2 separate regions of the Homo sapiens genome follow, and region 1 is linked to region 2. Evidence: promoter capture Hi-C in 16 types of primary human blood cells and fetal thymus (Javierre and others, 2016). All regions are on one chromosome and are shown on one strand. Each heading gives the region's core, a stretch centred on a gene start or on the middle of the fragment in contact. The rest is flanking DNA. Distances are from core to core; before and after follow the strand shown.

Region 1 (3,377 bases), core at 256-2,755, 200 kb after region 2:
TGGAGAAGGAGTTCCTAAGGATGATGGCACTCTCCTTCAGATGGTGAGCTCAGGGTAGGCCCTAGAGAGACCAGGTCTCCAGCTCCACCTGCAAGTCATTAGAAACACTCAGGTACAGAGGCAGGGACACAGCAGAGACAGCCAGGATCCCTGCCACTCACGCACACAAATCCCAGATAGAATGTTCCCCGTGCCCAGGCATCCGGGTACTCTGTCCCTTCACCGCTGAGTAACCTGCCCTGCTCACACCTGCAATTTTAGCATACTGCCTGCTCCTACTACAGACTCCAGGTATGTTACCATCCTGACTCTGAAATATCACGGCACATCACACACCCGGACACCCAGAAACACTGCCCTTTTAGACCTGAGCTACGCAGTGGCACAAACTCACTCATACACACCTGAGACGACATCTCCCTTCCTCCAACATGAGACATCTCCCTTCCTCCAACATGAGACATGTTTGCCTACCACACACACTGGAGATGCTCAGATATGACAACCACACCATACCTCAGACATGTAGGTAGAGCACGCACACACACGAAGGTACACTGCCTCCCACATGCTGCCACACACACACACTGAGACCTACAGATATACTGCAAAACATGGCCGAGACTCCCAAATACATGTCCTCTTTTTTTTTTTTTTTGAGACGGAGTCTCGCTCTGTCATCTAGGCTGGAATGCAGTGGCGTGATCTCAGCTCGCTGCAACCTCCGCCTCCCGGGTTCAAGCAATTCTTCTGCCTCAGCCTCCCAAGTAGCTGGGACTACAGGCGCGTGCCACCATGCCCGGCTATTTTTTGTATTTTTAGTAGAGATGGGGTTTCACCATATTGGCCAGGCTGGTCTTGAACTCCTGACCTCGTGATCCGCCCGCCTCGGCCACCCAAAGTGCTGGGATTACAGGCGTGAGCCACTGCGCCCGGCCGATATATGTCGTCTTAACGCTGAGACATTTCAGCATGCGGCCACAAAACGCCCAGGCTCATCTGTGTCCTTCCATGAGATGTTCCTTGTACATACGTGTCACATCCATGGGACATGGCAGTTCACTGCCTCCAAACACCTAGATACACTGCCCCACACGGCTAAGACACAAAGGTCCACATGAACACAACACACAGACATCGAGGTACAGTGTGCACACAGCATACCTGAGCTATGGGGGCATAGGGACCCCTCAAGCCAAAAGAGGTCCACAGTCATTGCCTCTCCTCCACCGGAGGCAGCAACATTTGAAATCAAATCAGGCACTTGTGATGGCCGCTAGGCTTAGGTGCTGCCTATGGAGCCACTGAGGCTGTCAGGTACACAGTCCCACACCTACCTGAGCTCAGCCCCAGGCACAGATGCCTGCTGGCAGCCTGAGTCACTCGGTCTAACTTGGCTTCAAGGCAACTCCACCAACCTTTGTTAAATAAGGCTCTGGGCCTCTGGGTACTGGCAGCCTGCTCACACTTTCCCTAGCACACTCCTGGACCCGTCCCTTCCCCTACATTATAAGCAAGGAGGAAGAAGAGGATCGAGGCTGGGCCTAGTTGGAAACGCGCAGGTGGACTCAGAACCGGGCGCGAACAGGGTTGGGTTGGGAAGGAGAAAGCCCAGGACCCTGGGGGACCCGGCCCTGCGCGCTCGGTGGGAAGCGGGGAGCGCAGAAGGGAGACAGGAGGAAGCGCGGCTGCGGGAGGGAAGGACGCAGGAGAAGAGGACAGGCCCAGCGCCCCCCGGACGCGCCCCCAGCGACGGCTGCTCCGCCGGCTCTCCCCAGCCCGGGCCCCCTGCTCGGTCCGGACCCTCACCTGGTCAAGGCGGAAGCGGCGACTGCGGAACCTCCCAGGCTGCCTGGGCTAAATCCGAGGAGGCGGGACAGGAGTAAATCCCGCGGAGGGCGGGGACCTGGCCGCTGGCCCGGGGCCGGCGAGGGCCGCACCCCGAGTTCCCTAGTGGGACAAGGTGACGGTCCCCAGGGCGACTGGCGGCCCCTCCCTCCTCCAGACCAGATCGCCCCGACTGTGAGAAGCCCCCTTCCCTTCTCCTCTGCTCGTCTTCCTTCACGTCTTTCCAGCCTTCTCCGAATAGCTTCCCAGCCCTCCCCAGACTTCACTCCTCTGTCTCTGTCCCCCATGCCCTCTCGCCAAATCCTTCACCTCTCAGCCAGGACCCTACCTCTTACATGAATAAGCGCCCGATAGAGCTATCCTGTCCACGCACAGGGAATATAAGGCTAAATAGGACACAGTTCCTGCCCCATGGCAGGGGGTTCAGAGCTTCCTAGCAGGCTTTACTTAATGAACCCTGGAATGGGGCCAGGGCAGAGAGATGTTGATGCTGGTACGGAGAGTTGGCCCTGGCCTAGACAGAGTCTACAGTTGAAGCTGTTGTTGATCACCGGCAGCATTCCATGCCTCAGGGCACGCTTCCCCATTACTGACACTCCTGGGCTTCCTTCCAGCGTAACGCCTGCTCTCCATGCAAGCTCTGCAGAACTCAGGGCCCTGCACACTGCTACCTAGCCTGTGGCCACTGGGACTAAGTCCAGGACCTTGAAGAAGGCCCTGAGGAGGACCATTTGTCTCCGCTTCTCTCAGGGGTCCCAGAGAGGAAGCTGCCAGTCTTAGGACATCTAGTCTGTCCCCTGTCCCAAGGAAGGACGCGTGAACATAGCAGCTGCTGTCCCAAGGGTCCCTTGGAGGGAAAAGCCCTCCTGGTCTTGGTAAACATGTAGGATGTTTGATCCCAACTGCCACCTCCACGTTTCCCAGCCTCGGGTCCTCTTCTTCCTCCTTGCTTATAATGTGGGGTAAGGGAGGGGTCCAGATGTCTGTAAGGGAAAGTGTGAGCAGGCAGCCAGTACCCAGAGACCCAGAGCCTTATTTAATAAAGGCTGGTGGAGTTGCCTTGAAACCAAGTTAGACCGAGTGACTCTCAGGCTGCCAGCAAGGATCTGTGCTTGGGGGCCAGTCCCTGTGTGGATCCTACGTGGGATAGGAAAATCTTCATAATGCTGTTCTATGGTATTGTTTTCTTGCCGATTCTTTTGCCCTCCAACCAGGATCGCTCATCACACTATAATTGTTACTGCACATCTGCGATCCCTGTTAGAGGTTCTGTAGCTCCACAGGGTAGGGGCTGGGCCTGGCTTGTTCATACTTGTGTTCTAAGTACCTAGGACAGTGTGGGCATATAATAGGCCTGATACATGTTGGTTGTAAAGAAGTCTCCTCAGTCTAATCCTCATTGTTGTGTAGATGATCTCTTTTTACTCCCTGCTTTTAAGATATCATTGGTGTTTTGTAGTTTTGTCACAATGTATCTAGATGTTTATTTATTCTATTTATTCTGCTCAATATGTTGTACTTCCTGTATG
Region 2 (3,146 bases), core at 641-3,140:
GGTTTGAAGCAAATGCTCAGAGGGCCTGGTAGGCGGATGGGCGTCTCCGGATGATGCAGAAAGCAATAAGCACCAGGGCGAGGAGGCCAAGAAGGATCAGGCCGATGATGAGAGGCAGCAAGATGGACCGGTCACTGGGGCAGGAGAAACCTGGCGGAAGGATAGGGCAGGTAGGTATTTGCAGTGACGTGCTGGTTGGGATAAAGGTGGGAGGAGGGAATGGGGGGATGCTGGGGAGTAGGAGATTGGTGAGGAGCTCACCGCAGTGACTCAGCAGTGATAAAAGGGGGAAACTGGCAGAGTCTTGTAGAGGATGGAAAGAAAGCTGCCCTGTAGCCATGACAAGCTGGGAGAGCGAGATTTGGGGGGTTAAGAAGAGAGATGAGTGGCTTATGGGCCTGGGGAAGGGGTTTTCAGTGCAGTGGGAGGATTCTAGGAGGGAAGGAGTAGGTAGGTCTTACTTTGCCCAAAGACCCCTGTGTGGGGCAGCTGAGCAGCCTGGAGCCTCAGGGAGAGCAGGTCGAGGTGGACAGCTGGTGAAAGAATGATGCTCGAGTTGCTGCAACTGAAGCTCTGCCCCAGGGGTGCTTGGAGATCTCGAAGGGATGCATTCTGAGCCGAGAATGTCCACTCTGGAGGAGTGAGGAAGGGTCAGATCCTATCCACCTCCCTGGCCCCAGCTTAGTCCTTTCAGGAACCCTGGCGTCTAGTGGTAGCAATGAGAAAGGGAAGGAGGTTACTTACGTGCTGCGTGGGGGAAGGACACATTGTACTCCACCGCCATGTAGCTCAGGTAGACAACCTTCTGCTGGAGGTCCTGTGGGGCGAAGAGGAAGGCGCAGGTGGTATCCCTCTCCACAGAGGAAGGAGTAGCGTGTGGGATTGGGAGGGGAGGGGCGCCGGGAGGCTGAGTGAGGGGTGAGACTGAGGTCATGGCTATACCTGCATGAATCCAAAGCTGAGGTGTCCATAGGGGAATGAGAGAAGCAGGTGGGGATGGGCACCCTCACAGCTTCCCTGGACCTTGGTTTTGTTGGGGTTCAGTACAGAGATGCCCCAGGCCTGCGGAAGTTAAAGACTGGAAGGTCACAAGACTGCATGCGATGCCGGCCAAGGTTCCCTGTCCCCTCTTCCTTCTTCCCTCTGAGCCTATATCCAGTCCTGCCTCCCTCCCCTCTCATCCCCCAGTTTTAGCTTTACCTCTCCTCCACCCTGGGTTGTGTACATGACTCGAATCTGAATCTGGGCTTGGAGGTGGACACAGGGCTGGGAACCATTGGTCCACGTGTAGTCTCCAATGGTCTCCTTGGAGGTTGGGCTAGGACTCGGAGAGGGTGGAGGTGGTTCTGGGTGGGCAGAACTGGTGAATCCTGGGCTGGTGGCAGTGCTGTTGCTTGTTGGATGAACCGTGGCATTTCCATGACTAGTGGTGGCAGGACTGTGAGTGGCAGTTGAGGGTCCCTGGCTGGTGGCAGTGCTATTGCTTGTTGGATGAACTGTGACGTTTCCATGGCTGGTGGTGGTGGGGTTGTGAGTGGCAGTCGTGGGTCCGTGGCTGGTGGTGCCTGTGGTGGTTGTCCTGTGAGTGGTGGTTTTGTGGCTCTTGGTAGTCCTGTGGCTGGTTGTTCCAGTGCTCTCTGTAACCGTGGGTGTCACCGTGAAGGATGGCAGCAAAGTAGCTGATTTTTTGTGAGGACAGTCATTCCCTGTCCCCTGGGCTTTTGGCAGAGAGGAGATGGTTAGCAACCCAGGGCAGGCTCCCTCCCAGGGGCCCCCTCCCCTCAGCCTCCTTCCTCCTTACCTGCCAGTAGCCCCAGCAGGGCCCCCGAGAAAAGCACAGCCAGCCTCATGGCTGAACCGCCTCACCCAAAGTCCAGCTAGGCTGTCTGCACCAGTTGCTCAACCCTGCTCCCTCAGCCCTCTCTTGGAAAGGAGGAAATGAAAGTCTCACTTCCTGTACTGGAGATGATCCCACCCACAGCCTGACTCAGGGGCCTCAGCTCTAGCCACCTCTCTCTTAGTCATTAGTTTTTGTAATTAAGTTAGGGGACTGTTGGCCCTGCTTCATCAGGGCAAAGTCAACAGTGTCACATGGGTGCAAACGGAGTCCTAGGGCAGTTGATCCACAGGGATCCATGTGTCAAACTCAGCGAAACTTGCTTGGCAGTTGTGGCAAGTAGCTATGGGAACAGCTGAGGTACAGGCCCCTCCCTTGGTGGGGAAATCGGTTTCCACTCCTTTCCCCTGGACCTCTGGGCTGACCCCTGTACTACTTCCTCTTGGCTGAGGCATGTGAGGGGCTTGTGACCATCCACACCCAGCCCTTTACAGAGGGGCAGCACTCCAGTCAGCATTGTCATTCACAGAGCCGAGAACATGGCTTTCCAGCGTCTGAGAACTCAGATGGTGACAAGAAAGCAACAGCCCAAAGGTAACCATCTGCTGGGGAAGGGGGGAGCAGAGATGCACCCAGTAGCAGGTGGGAGAGGGAAGGGGAGGTAAGAAATGAGAAGCCCAAACAGGCAGTTTCCAAGTCATTTTATTCAGAATTTTGTGTTTGTTTCCTGAATCAATAAATACTATACAAAACAATGTAAAAATGGCTACCATTTTCTCTCCCCTGCTTCCCCCCACCTGGGGACAACCCCCTGGGCAACCTCACTTAGGGGTTTTAGGGGTTCTCCCTCCAGATTTGGTCCAGCAAATGAGGCTGAGTGACATAGTCCCTTGAATCACTTTCAAAGGAGCTCAGCTGAGGTGAGGAGAGCCTCTGGGATCTGGAGGTTACTAGGTTAGGGAAATGGATTAGTGTTTTTTTTTTTTTTTTGGGAGAAGAGCCGGCGCCTGGGGCAAGAGCCTACCCCAAAGAAAAGGGTGTCTAAAATGTTCACGGTTCCTTCTTTTGCCTCAAAAAGTGACATTTATTCAAAGAAAAAAAATGACAAGATGTCCATCCCTTGGCTCCCTTCCCTCCCCCCTCCTGCTGCTCCTCAGCCCCCAGAGATTGAGCCCTGGCTGGGGCTGGGTGGCAGGACAGCCCCTCAGATGAGGTCAGCAACATTGAGGGGCATTTCCTCAATGGAGGTGTTGTAGAAGGTCTCAATGTCTCGAAGAGTCCTCTTGTCTTCTTCTGTCACCATGTTAAT

The links. The method cuts DNA at HindIII sites, captures the fragments that hold promoters and counts their contacts. A CHiCAGO score of 5 or more calls a contact.
Region 1: a contact is called between a fragment that was not itself captured here and the fragment with the promoter of CD68 in region 2, in 2 of 17 cell types (total CD8 T cells and total B cells). The highest score is 6.3, in total CD8 T cells.

What each region holds. Positions count from the first base shown.
Region 1 is chr17:7,379,547-7,382,923 of GRCh38, reverse strand. It overlaps TNK1 (tyrosine kinase non receptor 1), which reads right to left and starts at 1,835. Exons shown (of 13, transcript NM_003985.6): 1 at 1,810-1,835; 2 at 1-88. RefSeq lists an enhancer at 1,817-2,317. The HindIII fragment of the contact is 9,212 bases long and covers 1-3,377 here.
Region 2 is chr17:7,578,382-7,581,527 of GRCh38, reverse strand. CD68 (CD68 molecule) reads right to left here and starts at 1,890. Exons shown (of 6, transcript NM_001251.3): 1 at 1,802-1,890; 2 at 1,201-1,718; 3 at 943-1,062; 4 at 745-817; 5 at 462-632; 6 at 1-150. The coding sequence starts at 1,850. The coding sequence ends at 17. It overlaps EIF4A1 (eukaryotic translation initiation factor 4A1), which reads right to left. Exons shown (of 11, transcript NM_001416.4): 11 at 2,522-3,146. The coding sequence ends at 3,042. SENP3-EIF4A1 (SENP3-EIF4A1 readthrough (NMD candidate)) reads right to left here. Exons shown (of 22, transcript NR_037926.1): 22 at 2,522-3,146. RefSeq lists enhancers at 996-1,065, 1,166-1,225 and a silencer at 2,701-2,889. The HindIII fragment of the contact is 9,128 bases long and covers 1-3,146 here.